2 separate regions of the Homo sapiens genome follow, and region 2 is linked to region 1. Evidence: promoter capture Hi-C in human tissues and cell types (Jung and others, 2019). All regions are on one chromosome and are shown on one strand. Each heading gives the region's core, a stretch centred on a gene start or on the middle of the fragment in contact. The rest is flanking DNA. Distances are from core to core; before and after follow the strand shown. Region 1 holds the start of ZNF850 (zinc finger protein 850). Region 2 overlaps ZNF568 (zinc finger protein 568).

Evidence for each region. Contacts are between HindIII fragments. The study calls those that stand out against the background at their distance.
Region 2: a contact is called between a fragment that was not itself captured here and the fragment with the promoter of ZNF850 in region 1, in 1 of the 25 tissues and cell types used here (pancreas).

The regions. Positions count from the first base shown.
Region 1 is chr19:36,769,580-36,775,230 of GRCh38, forward strand. It overlaps ZNF850 (zinc finger protein 850), which reads right to left and starts at 3,228. Exons shown (of 5, transcript NM_001193552.2): 1 at 3,146-3,228. LOC728485 (a long non-coding RNA gene) reads left to right here and starts at 3,574. Exons shown (of 2, transcript NR_164117.1): 1 at 3,574-3,930. RefSeq lists a silencer at 2,768-3,062 and enhancers at 3,049-3,188, 3,329-3,488. The HindIII fragment of the contact is 7,262 bases long and covers 1,422-5,651 here.
Region 2 is chr19:36,925,139-36,931,536 of GRCh38, forward strand. ZNF568 (zinc finger protein 568) reads left to right here. Exons shown (of 7, transcript NM_198539.4): 4 at 62-120. Among named protein-coding and RNA genes, the nearest start is that of ZNF568, 12 kb to the left of the region's middle. The HindIII fragment of the contact is 6,601 bases long and covers 222-6,398 here.

The sequences.
Region 1 (5,651 bases), core at 1,978-4,477:
ACAGAGTGAGACCCTACCTCAAAAATAAAAATAAATAAATAAATAAAAATTCAGCGATGGAGTTGATGGATTCGAGGTTGAGAACCCCCAATGTGAACCCATTTGGAAAAAACTCAAACTATGTTCTTCCTCTGCTTCACAACAAAACCACAACAATCAAACCAGAAGACTTCTGTGGCCTCAAAATCCAAGGAGATTTCTCCCCATCAGCAAGCAAGGAATCAGTTCTGCAGCAGACACCAGCTGGGTGTCCACCAATTCGATTCTGACACTATCTACCATGAGATACTGTCATCCCACAGGCTAAGGGCTCAGCCCCCAAAACTGGTCCCCTTTCAGACACCAGTCACAAGTCCCAGCCTCTACAACTTCTGACTGACGGGTTCAATTTGGGATTCCTACGACCCCCTCTTTGGGTTCGATTAATTTGCTAAAATAAAATGGCTCACAGACCTCAGGGAAACACATTTACTGGCTGATTATAAGGATATTCCAAAGGATACAGATGAAGAGATGCCTAGGGCGAGGTATGGGGCAAGGGGCACAGAGCCTCCATGCCCTCCCTAGGCACGACCCTCCAGGAACCACCATGTGTTCAGCTCTCTGGAAGCTCTCTGAATCCACCCCTTTTGGGTTTGTAAGGAGGCTTCATTACATAGGCATGATTGATTAAACCACTGGCTACTTGCCATCAACTTAATCCTCAGTCCCCTCCACTCCCCAGGGGTGGGAGGGTAGGGGCTCAAAGTCTCAACCCTCTAATCCTGCCTTGGTCTTTCTGATGACCAGCCCCCATCCTGAAGCTTTCGGTCAATCACTAACATACAAAAAGCCAAAGGCTGGGTGCAGTGGCTCACGCCGGTAATCCCAACACTTTGGGAGGCCGAGGCAGGCAGATCACCTGAGGTCAGGAGTTCGCGACCAGACTGGCCAGTATGGTGAAACCCCGTCTCTACTAAAAAAAACAAATACAAAAATTAGCCGGGCGTGGTGGCGCGTGCCTGTAGTTCCAGCTACTCGGGAGGCTGCGGCAGAAGAACTGCTTGAACCCGGGAGGCAGAGGTTGCAGTGACTGGAGATTGCGCCACTGCACTTCAGTCTGGGCGACAGAGAGAGACTCCATCAAAAAAAAAAAAAAAAAAAAAAAAAAAAAAAAAAAGCCAGCACTTAAGAGATTCCAAGGACTTTAGGAGTTGTATGCGAGGAAATAGGGACAAAGACCAAATCTGTATTTGAGAAAATCACAGAACCGTATGAGTATTTAATTCAATACAGACATGGAAACTGGCCCAAGCATTTACTCACAGATGACTGGGCAAATCCCTGGTGTTATTGGTACAAACTATTGATCGAGCCCCCAATCTCATTCCTACCCCTAAAATATAGCAAAGTGAAAGATCTTATCACTTATTTGGACTGAGATTAACACCATCCCATAAACTGCATGGCTTTCAATCCCAGGGCTATGGCGTGTGATGCCACATAGAATATGCACTAATCTCTGCAGCAATTGAGTTGTTAGGGTAAAGGCTCTTGTTTTTGCCTTCTTTCTCTCACGGCCAAGAAAATTAAGGAACAGGGACACAAAGGATGAGGTCGGAGCGGAAGTTTAATAAGCAAAAGAAGAAAGCTCTCCCCAGCGGAGGGACCCAAAAGAGGGTTGCCAACTAGGAGGCTGAATCTGGGGGGGTTTATTAACTGGGAAGGGGAGGAACGTGGGCTGTCTTGAAGAAAGCACTACCCAGCTTGGCCCTGGGACCTTAGCCCGGGACCAATCCCAGGCTGAAGTGAAAGTTTGGCCCAGGACCAATCAGGGGCTGAAGTGAAAGTTTGGCCCGGGACCAATCAGGGGCTGAAGTGAAAGTTTGGCCCGGGACCAATCAGGAGCTGAAGTGAAAGTTTGGCCCGGGACCAATTAGGGGCTGAAGTGAAAGTTTGGCCCGGGACCAATCAGGAGCTGAAGTGAAAGTTTGGGCCGGGACCAATCAGGAGCTGAAGTGAAAGTTTGGCCCGGGACCAATCAGGGGCTGAAGTGAAAGCTTGGCCCGGGACCAATGAGGGGGTGAAGTTATGATTCAAAGAGGCCGCGCTCACAGTCTAAAGCATGTCCAAAAAAGGAAAGTGGCCGCCGGAACCTGTTAGTCCAAGCTGCACCGTTTCGTAAGCCCCCACCATTTCACAGACCCTGGTCAGAGGGAAACATTCCACCCGGGTTTGGGCTGTGCGAAACATCCTTCCCAACCGCCTGACTTCCTTATCACATCCTGCTGGGCAAAAGCCCAAGAAACATCCTTATCAACTTTCTCCCAGGCAACAAGCCATACCGCCCAGACCCCTCCTGCCCAGGCCTGTAATTACCCCAGCCTGGAAGCGGCAGTGGGCTCTGGCATTTAGTTGGTCCCCGCCATAGAGCCGCCAACTCTCTCTCTTTCTTTAACCCTCGCCTTCCCTTCAAAATCTAACAGAGCCCACCGTGTACATGCCCACAAAAGAAGCGACTATTTCGTGGAAGCCCGCTGGTCACACAAAGGACAAAGGCGTTTCTATGTTGGGCCTCGGTCCCTTATCAGTGCAGCTGAGGAATGTCTTCAGGACAACCCCCCTGTGGAGTTTTCCTTATGTATGCCTGCAGCCTGATTTTTCAGGCTGTTTCTCTGTTTAAAGGACTTTTACCAAGGTCCCACCCTAACTGCCTAAAGAGTTTTTTCTCTCAAGGGGACACACAAAGTCCCAATCGCACACATGCCTCCGCATATCCACTTACCCACTGCCTCACAGCCAATCACACTCTCCTCTCTCACATACACCAAGGGGCCACACAAGTTGCACTTGCACAGCCACAGACCTGCAACTCACGCACACAAGGTACTGCACAGACACGCAAAGTCACACACCCACCCCGGGACACGCAGTCCAACCACACAGTCACCGGTTCTTCACATCCGCACGCACAACGAGGGTCGTCCAGGACACACACACCCACTCCGGGCGCGCACAGTCACAAGCGCCCACCTGATCACCCAGAGTCAGCACCACACAGCCACAGTCACAGACCACGGAGACCCACGGCAGCCATCGCGATCACACACGCAAACTCCTCTCCTCAGCCCTCCACACACAAAAGGACCGGAGCCGGATTCCTCACCCTCAGCATTCTCTGGTTCCGCTCGGGGCCAGCCTAGCCAAGTTCCTCAGGACTCCAAGGCGCGGCGGCAGCTAAATCGGCACAGCAAACGGTCCCGCCACCTGGCTAAGAGGAAGCCAAAATCTCGCGAGACGTGGCGTCGGCCTGCGGGATCCTCTGGGAAATGTAGTCCAGAGCCCGACTGCGGGCTTCCCTATGCCTCTCATTTCCAAGCCTGGCTTGTTTCCTTTTACCGCTCCTCTCCAACGAGGATCGCAGAGCCCTCATGCCGAGCGGCTCGCTATGGGGCCGGCTCGCCCGCTAGAGTGGTCAGGCCTGATTATCCCTGGCAGCTCTGTTATCTGGGGTAAGACACAGGAAAACGTGCTTCCGGTTCTCGGCGGAAGTAGCCCCGAACGGTAGAACCGATGGGAAATGTAGTCCAGGGCAGAAAAGCGGTCAACCCAGCCACGATGCGAGCCAAAGGATTCTTGGCTCCAAGCCTGGTCCTGGCTGTTAGTTTGGAACTCATGCACCCAGATGCTAACTCGCCCTCAGAATGCAGAGGGGATGAAACACTGACCGGACAATTCAATCTGTATATGGGTGAGTCCAGGGCTCAGTCTGCATTGCGCGGAAAATGAAGGTGAAGGTGGAGGTGGGACCTGATGGTCTCGTCCCGGATAGGGTTGAAGAAGTGGGAGAAAAGGAATCAAAATCGTGGATGGGATAAGATTGTGCGCGAATGCTCTCTGGGAGCGGATCGTGGCCGACGAGGGCCCGAAGATGCTGCCTTGTGATCGCAGGTGTGAGTGGAAGCTGTGTGAGTGTCAATGTGAGTTGCCTGTTTGGGAGACCAGCATTGTATTTTTGTATCAGGTAGTAACCTTGGAGCCAGGTATTTGTAAAATTATGATAAGAGGGCATCATTCTGGAGCATCGATTTTATTTGGAGGTTGACAGGAGAGGGAAAAAAACCCCTAATATCTGATAAACAACATAAATAGATTTTTATGTTAAAGTAGTTATATTTATTACGGTCTAGAATGCAAATCCAACATGGCTTTTAAAGCAAGAAAGATTTTTTTTATACAAAGTCAAAGGTATTATTTTTATACACTTACTACAAAACATACAAATAGTATACCAAGCCTAAGAATATAAAGAGTCTAGCTTTAATTAATTGAATGTAAATTTAAAAACAAGCATCTAATAAGTAGTCCTTTTCACACATCGAAAAGCCAATTTCGGAATTTTTTTAAAAACTCAAATTACAAAGTAACAAATATCTGGTGTCTTAGTAACTTGAAGATCAGTACTAATGATTAAGCCAGCTTATATGCTAATATGATACATGAAAAAGCCTGTATTTCACAAATAGCAAACCACTAAAACTTTAATTTTCCACAGAAGCCATTGTTTCACACCAATAATTATGTTAAAGATCAAGACAGGCTAAAAGTTTTTAATGAGCACTGAATCCATTAAAACTTGGCAAATTTTTCCACGAAGGTAGAATTTTAATTTCTGTTTAAACCATGGGTAGATGGTACACCCTTGTGAGGGTGTACTGTAAGTACTTCTAAGGAGCTTTATCAGACTTCATCCCAAATTATGTACCTAGTAAAAGATGTACCAATGTCTACTTTGGAATAAGAAATTATTCCTTGTTTGAGCAAGGATTAAGCAGAAACTGAAAGAAGTGTAGTTTATAGCTTCTTACATAAAGTAGATGGGCACCCCTCAAAAACAAACCAATATCCTGGCTCCTTAAATATCAACATTAATCTAAATAATGTATAGCATGCTCCTGTCCAATCTTTCCCGCTCATTTGTAGTCTTCTCAGATCGATGCTTCATTTTAGTCACACATTTCTATCCTGCAAGACTGGGTACCTGGGCTTTTTGTCTGGTTTTGTAACACTAGGCAGTTTTGGCCTTACTCAAAATATAAGACTGCAAAAGGCCTGTTTTACCTCAACCATACGGCTTCAGGAAATGGTCTGTATTTCCAACAGAAAAGTGGTATCTAACTCTCAGGATGGTTTCTAACAACTGGATAGATACCTGGGTCTTTGCGGCCTGTGATGCAGCCTAACAATACAGGACCTTGTGTGATCAGCTAGGTCTGCTAAAGCAAGGGGACATCCATGTTCTAGATTTTTATTTATTTATTTTTTTTTGAGACGGAGTCTTGCTCTGTCGCCCAGGCTGGAGTGCAGTGGCGTGATCTCGGCTCACTGCAAACTCCGCCTCCCGGGTTCAAGCCATTCTCCTGCCTCAGCCTCCTGAGTAGCTGGGACTACAGGCGCCCGCCACCACGCCCGGCTAATTTTTTGTATTTTTCGTAGAGACGGGGTTTCACCGTATTAGCCAAGATGGTCTCGATCTCCTGACTTCGTGATCCGCCCGCCTTGGCCTCCCAAAGTGCTGGGATTACAGGCGTGAGCCACCTCGCCCGGCCCATGTTCTAGATTTTTTATTCTGGTTTAGCAGGATCCAAACTGCCTGTCCTGAAGAGACTCTC
Region 2 (6,398 bases), core at 2,272-4,771, 160 kb after region 1:
GATTTCTATATTCCTTTGTCTGAAACTTTGAAGCAAATCTGTTTCATTTCTCTTCCCTCAGCTTGGTGTTCTCAAGAGTCTGCCCTTTCCGAGGAAGAAGAGGATACAACCAGGCCTCTTGTACGTCTTAAGCATTTATTTGTTTCCTGCATTATTTTGCAGTGCAGTTACGGTGGGTTCTTGTAACCTACCAATGTGTTGGAAAAAATAAATTGATGAAAATAAAAGTGAGAAAAAATACAGATAGAAAATCAGAACCTGGGGAAATTTGAGATATGGCTATGCAGAAGCAGGTACATACAGAATTATTAAAGTTGAGTTCAAATTTAAATATGATCTGGACAGTCAAAGCAAACTGGGACACTTAAGTTTATTCCGTAAGTCCATAAGTTGCACCATTTATGAGGAAAAACTTACAATTATTTAAGTAAAAGGCTTTTAACTGGCACCTTGTTCAAAAAGAAACTCTAAAATATAGTTGGACTTCTGTATCTGTAGATTCTGCATCCATAGATTGAACCAACTGCAAATCAAAAATACTTGAAAAAAAAATGGGTGGTTGTATCTGTACTGAACATGTACAGACTTTTTTCTTGTCGTTTTCTAAACAACATAGTGTAACAACTATTTACATAGAAATCACATTATATTAGGTTTTATAAGTAATCTAGGGACGATTTAAAGTATACGGGAGGACGTACATTGGTTACGTACAAATCCTACACCATTTTATATAAGGGACTTGAGCATCAGTGGATTTTGGTATCCGTGGGGGGTCCTGGAACCAATTCTACATGGTTTCCTAGGGACGACTGTAATTCCTTAATTCTTACAATTTTTAGCTTAGCTTTTAGAAGTTGGTCTTGGCCAAACTTCAAAAATTCAAATTACCTGGAAGAGTAAGTGGAACACATATCTTTCAAATGATCCTACGTATATATTTTCTTCAATTGAGTTTTTAATCCAAGTTGAGCTAAATTATACTAATATTCTATGGCAGAATCTTATAGTTCTGATATCCATAGCTTTTCACATCTTTTTTATGGTCTCAGAAGATATAGTCTTCATCCTCATCTTACAAAATTACGTATTCTCTGCTCTTGATTCTTTTTGTTTCCACCTCTGAAGTCACTCACACACCTATATTTTGAATGTTTTCTGCTTAACTGCCTCTTTTTCTTCAGCTTATGTCTTTCACATCATGAAATATACACACATACTTCTTTTGACCATATGATCATATGGCTCATCCAGTTACTTCTGTTGGCGCGGTGGCCCTAGCAAACCTCTCTGGCCCTCGACAGGCTTGAGTTTAAATCTTGGCTCAGTGACTTATGAAGTGCATGACTGTGGACAAGTTTCTTAATCTTTTTGTGACTCAGTTACATCATCTGTAAGTCTATAAATGGGGATGATAATGGTATTTATCCCACAGGAATGTTGGGAGGGTTAAATACATGTAACAAGTACCCCATAAATGATAGGCATTGTTATTTTTTTCTCAAATATTTTTGGTCTGCCATTGGTTGAATCCATGGATATTGAACCCACAGATATGGAGAACCAACTGTTACAGCTTTATTGAGTTCTTACTATGTGCCAGATGTATTGTGCTTTACATAGCTTATTTCATGTAATTATTATCAGACGTCTATGAAGTACATATTATTTAAATTTTTTAAGATAAGGGAAATGAAGCACAGAGGTTAAGCTTACATAACATCGTGCATCAATGTGTCATAAACCCAGGATTCAAATCCATACAGTCTGACTCTAGGGCCCACACTCTACGATACTGTACAGATGGAGGCTCATTATGAGTGAAGAAATACAAAAGCCAATTACCCATTCATATTGTTTGTCTATTTTGTAATAATAGTTTTTTCTGTATTCGAAATTAGAATATTTTAAGAATGTCTATTTCAGTATTAGGACTTAGGATTTATGCAGCTACCTTCTCCCAATCTGTCATTTTTATGTTATTTATTTTTTGTTGTATAGACATTGAAGTTTGGATAGTTACATTTAGTGTATGATAAATATGTATACATAATAGAATTCAGTCAAAATATGCAACTATTAATATTTAGTAGTCTTTTCTCATGAGTTGCCAATGTTAATCTTTTCTAAGATATCTTTCCTAATTAATATTAGATCATAGAGATAATCTCTGTTCAAAGCATTGTTTTCCATATTTAGTCTTTAATCCAACTGGATTATAATATTGTAATTGGTTTGAGATAGGAATTTACTGATAATTCTATTAGTAGAATTATCTTTGCATGTAGAAGACCAGTTGTTCCAACACCGTTTATTAAGTAGATCTTTCCTTTGTGATGCCACCTTTACTGTATACATACATGATGGTTTCTAGGCTTTTACTTTTTCTGTAATCTATTTGTCTACATTTATATCAGTACTGTACTTTGTGTGTGTGTGTTTTACATTGGTTTAATTACAATTACTTTATATGGGCAATGATTTCACCACTTCTTTATGCACACACATTATTCTTAGTTTTTCAAAAATTTTTCAGCTACTTTGGGACCTCTGGGCTTCCATTTGAATTTTAGAATTAGTTTATCTAGTTCTAGGAAGAAATCCTATTGGGGATTTCCATTGAATTGCACAACTAGTTGGAGAAGAATTAAGCAAAAAATACATATATATAAAAAATATATAAATATATATATATATAAAGATATATGTGTGTGTGTGTGTGTATATATATATATATATATATATATATTATATATATATATATATTTTTTTTTTTTTTTTTTTTTTTTTTTTGGTGATGAAGTCTTGCTTTGTTGCCCAGGCTTGAGTGCAGTGACACGATCTTGGCTCACTGCAACCTCCACCTCCCGGGTTTAAGTGATTCTCATGCCTCAGCCTCCCAAGCAGCTGGGATTACAGGGGTACACCACCATGCCTGGCTAAGTTTTTGCATTTTTAGTAGAGATAGGGTTTCGCCATGTTGGCCAGGCTGACCTCAAGTGATTCTGACCTCAAGTGATCCACCTGCCTCAGCCTCCCAAAGTACTAGGATTGCAGGCATGAGCCATTGCACCTGTCCCGAAAGATATTTTCTGTCACAATTAAAGATGTTTCCATTTAAGGGAATCTATTAATATAAATTATTATATTCAAGAGAAAAACAATCAGATCTATAGAGCTGAAAATTTTTTTAACTCAGAACCTGTGATTTCAAAAGGACCTATTTATAAAGTAAAAGTAAAAGAACATTTTCTTATGATATTTTAAGAAATTATTCACACGCATACAACACATATATATGTGCAGATAATAAGCTACAAGCTAGTACCATGTTTACTTGTAAAAATTAGGCACTTTCCTACTAGTCAGGAACACAACCAGCTTGCCAGTGCTACTACTACGATTTTGTATGCCTAGACATAAGTAAGGGGAGGGAAATGAAGTAAAAAGCAGGATGGTGCATTCAAAATTATGATATCTAAGTGATACAATTATGTTTTTAGGCAACAGAAGAGAAACACAAGAATGATTGAAATATGGACACAAAATTAATATACAAAAATCAATACCATTTTTCTCTATAAACCACACCATCAAAAATGAAATGGAAGAATGATGCTCAGACTAGAAAAAAACCCGAAAGAAAAAAATAAAATGTATGTGGTGTACATGGGAGAATGAAACCTTCAAATTATTACTGAGATAGAGGATTTGAACAAATTTTTTAAATACCCTTTTTTGGATAAGAGCCATCATTATTAAATTAATATAAATTGTCTTTAACCTACATAGATTGATCAGAATCTCAATAACAATTCTAAATTATTTTTCTTAGAATTAGACAAGTTTATTTGAGCCGAGTCTAGAATACATTTGAAAAATAAAAACATGCAGAATGGCCAGGAAAAGTATAAAAGAATGTCATGTGCCATGCTCTAAGTTTTTAAAAGAAGAATATTTGTTTAATGCTTACATAACTTTAGGGAAAAAAAAATTTTATAAAAAGTTGCCAGTCAACATATACACCCAGAACTGACTTGTAGTTATCTTTATTCCCTCACTGTAAACTTTGTTATTTTAAACAATTATATTCTATTATGTATCTTAAAAGTGAAGAAAGCGAGGCATGGTGGCTCACACCTGTAATCCCAGCATTTTAGGAGGCCACAGCTGGAGGATCACTTGAGGCCAGGAGTTTGAGACCAGCTGGATCAATACAGCAAGACCCAGTCTTTACAAAAAATTTTAAAAAATTAGCTGGGTGTGGCCAGGCGTGGTGGCTCACGCCTGTAATCCCAGCACTTTGGGAGGCTGAGGCGGGTGAATCATGAGGTCAGAAGATCGAGAGCATTCTGGCTGACATGGTGAAACCCCGTTTCTACTAAAAATACAAAAAATTAGCCGGGTGTGGTCGTACACACCTGTAGTCCCAGCTACTTGGGAGGCTGAGGCAGGAGAATCACTTGTACCCAGGAGGCAGAGGTTGCAGTGAGCCGAGATCGCACCATTGCACTCCAGCCTGGGCGACAGAGCAAGACTCCGTCTCAAAAAAAAAAAAAAAAAAATTAGCTAGGTTTGGTGGCTCACATGTGTAGTCCCAGCTACTCAGGAGGCTGAGGCAGGAGGATTGCTTGAGCTCAGCAGTGAGTCTTCAGTGAGCTATGATTGTGGCACTGCTCCAGCTTAGGTGACAGAGCGAGACCCAGTTTCAAAGAAAAAAAAAAGTGAAGGAGAGGAAGGTGCTGTGGTACCAGCAAGAACATTGGAAATATTATTGCCTCTTGCCAGGGGCAGAAGCGTGTTCATGTTTTTTTTTTTTTTTGGTTCTGTTTGACAGGAGAAGGAATAAAACTTAATGACATGAACTGTGAATTTATGTTTTTTAAGGTTCGAACCCCTATGTTTCTTGCTATTAATACTGAATTTCTTAACATTTGTATGTGAAGAGAATCAACATCTTGGGAAAATAGACCCTATTGTAAAGACTGACTCATCATTTTATACAGTCAAAAATTAAAGCATATTTTACTTCTTGGTATTTTGTTACTTATGGCTTTTGTCAGGGATGCAATTTCTTTTTTTTTTTTTTGAGACAGAGTCTCGCTCTGTCGCCCAGGCTGGAGTGCAATGGCACAATCTTGGCTGACTGCAAGCTCCGCCTCCCAGGTTCACGCCATTCTCCTGCCTCAGCCTCCCGAGTCGCTGGGACTACAGACGCTCGCCACCACACCCGGCTAATTTTTTGTATCTTTAGTAGAGATGGGGTTTCACCATGTTAGCCAGGATGGTCTCGATCTCCTGACCTCGTGATCCGCCCGCCTCGGCCTCCCAAAGTGCTGGGATTACAAGCATGAGCCACCGCGCCTGGCCAGGGGTGCAATCTTTTTATATGAGATTTATGCTAAGTTACTAGAGTTGGTGGGAAAATGTTTTTGTGCTGATTTGTTAGCACTAATTTAAAAAATGTTTTCTCTTTTTGTAGTTTTCCCCTATCTTTGTTGTGGTGTATATTCCAGAGGGATTATCTATTTCTGAAACATTCATCAGTTGATTATTGTGTCAAGCTCTGTTCTGAGTCACATTTACTGTGTTATTTAGTCTTCACATCAACCCTTTAAGGAGAATTCCACTTTATAGATGAGGAAACTGAGACTCAAGTTTGGCTATTTGTCAAGGTAACACAATTAGTAAATTTTGAAGCCAGAGTTTGAACCCATGACATTGGATACCACAGCCTATTAACTGGTAAAAAATATCTAAACCCAGCTCCGTTTTGAAAGTTTAGTATTTCAGCATTTTTTTTCAGTCAGAAATGTGTCAGTCACATGTCTGTTCAGCCTTTCTGCTGCTTTTGTGAATAGAAAACAGGCGTTCATTCTTATCCTTGGGGTCTGCAGGTTAACTATGTGGGCATCTCTGCTTTGGGCTGCAGATCAGCTGGCCTTGGCTTAGGCTCCACAGTGGGCTTGTGTCTGCTCTGCATATATTCATTCTGAGTTTCAGCTGAAATGGCACAGCTTCCTGGGCCAAGGTCTTCATTTGCTGTCTCACTGGAGCACATGAGCCAAGGTAAAGGGTGTAAGCAAATTTCAGGCCTTTGCTCACATCATGTTTACTGACATTCCTTTTGCCCCAACAAAGGGCTCAGACAAGGCCCACATTAGTAGATGGGACATTAGTACAGGCAGGAAGTGAAGACTCGCTGAATAATCAATTTATCACAGTAATATTTTCTAATGGAATTATTTTTTGTTGAGTTTGTTTTTGAGACCAGGACTTGCTGTGTTGCCCAGGCTGGAGTACAGTGGCATGAACTTGGCTCAGGTGATCCTCCCGCCTCAGCCTCCCGAGTAGCTAGATGATAGGCATGTGCCATCATGCCTGGCTAATTTTTTTAT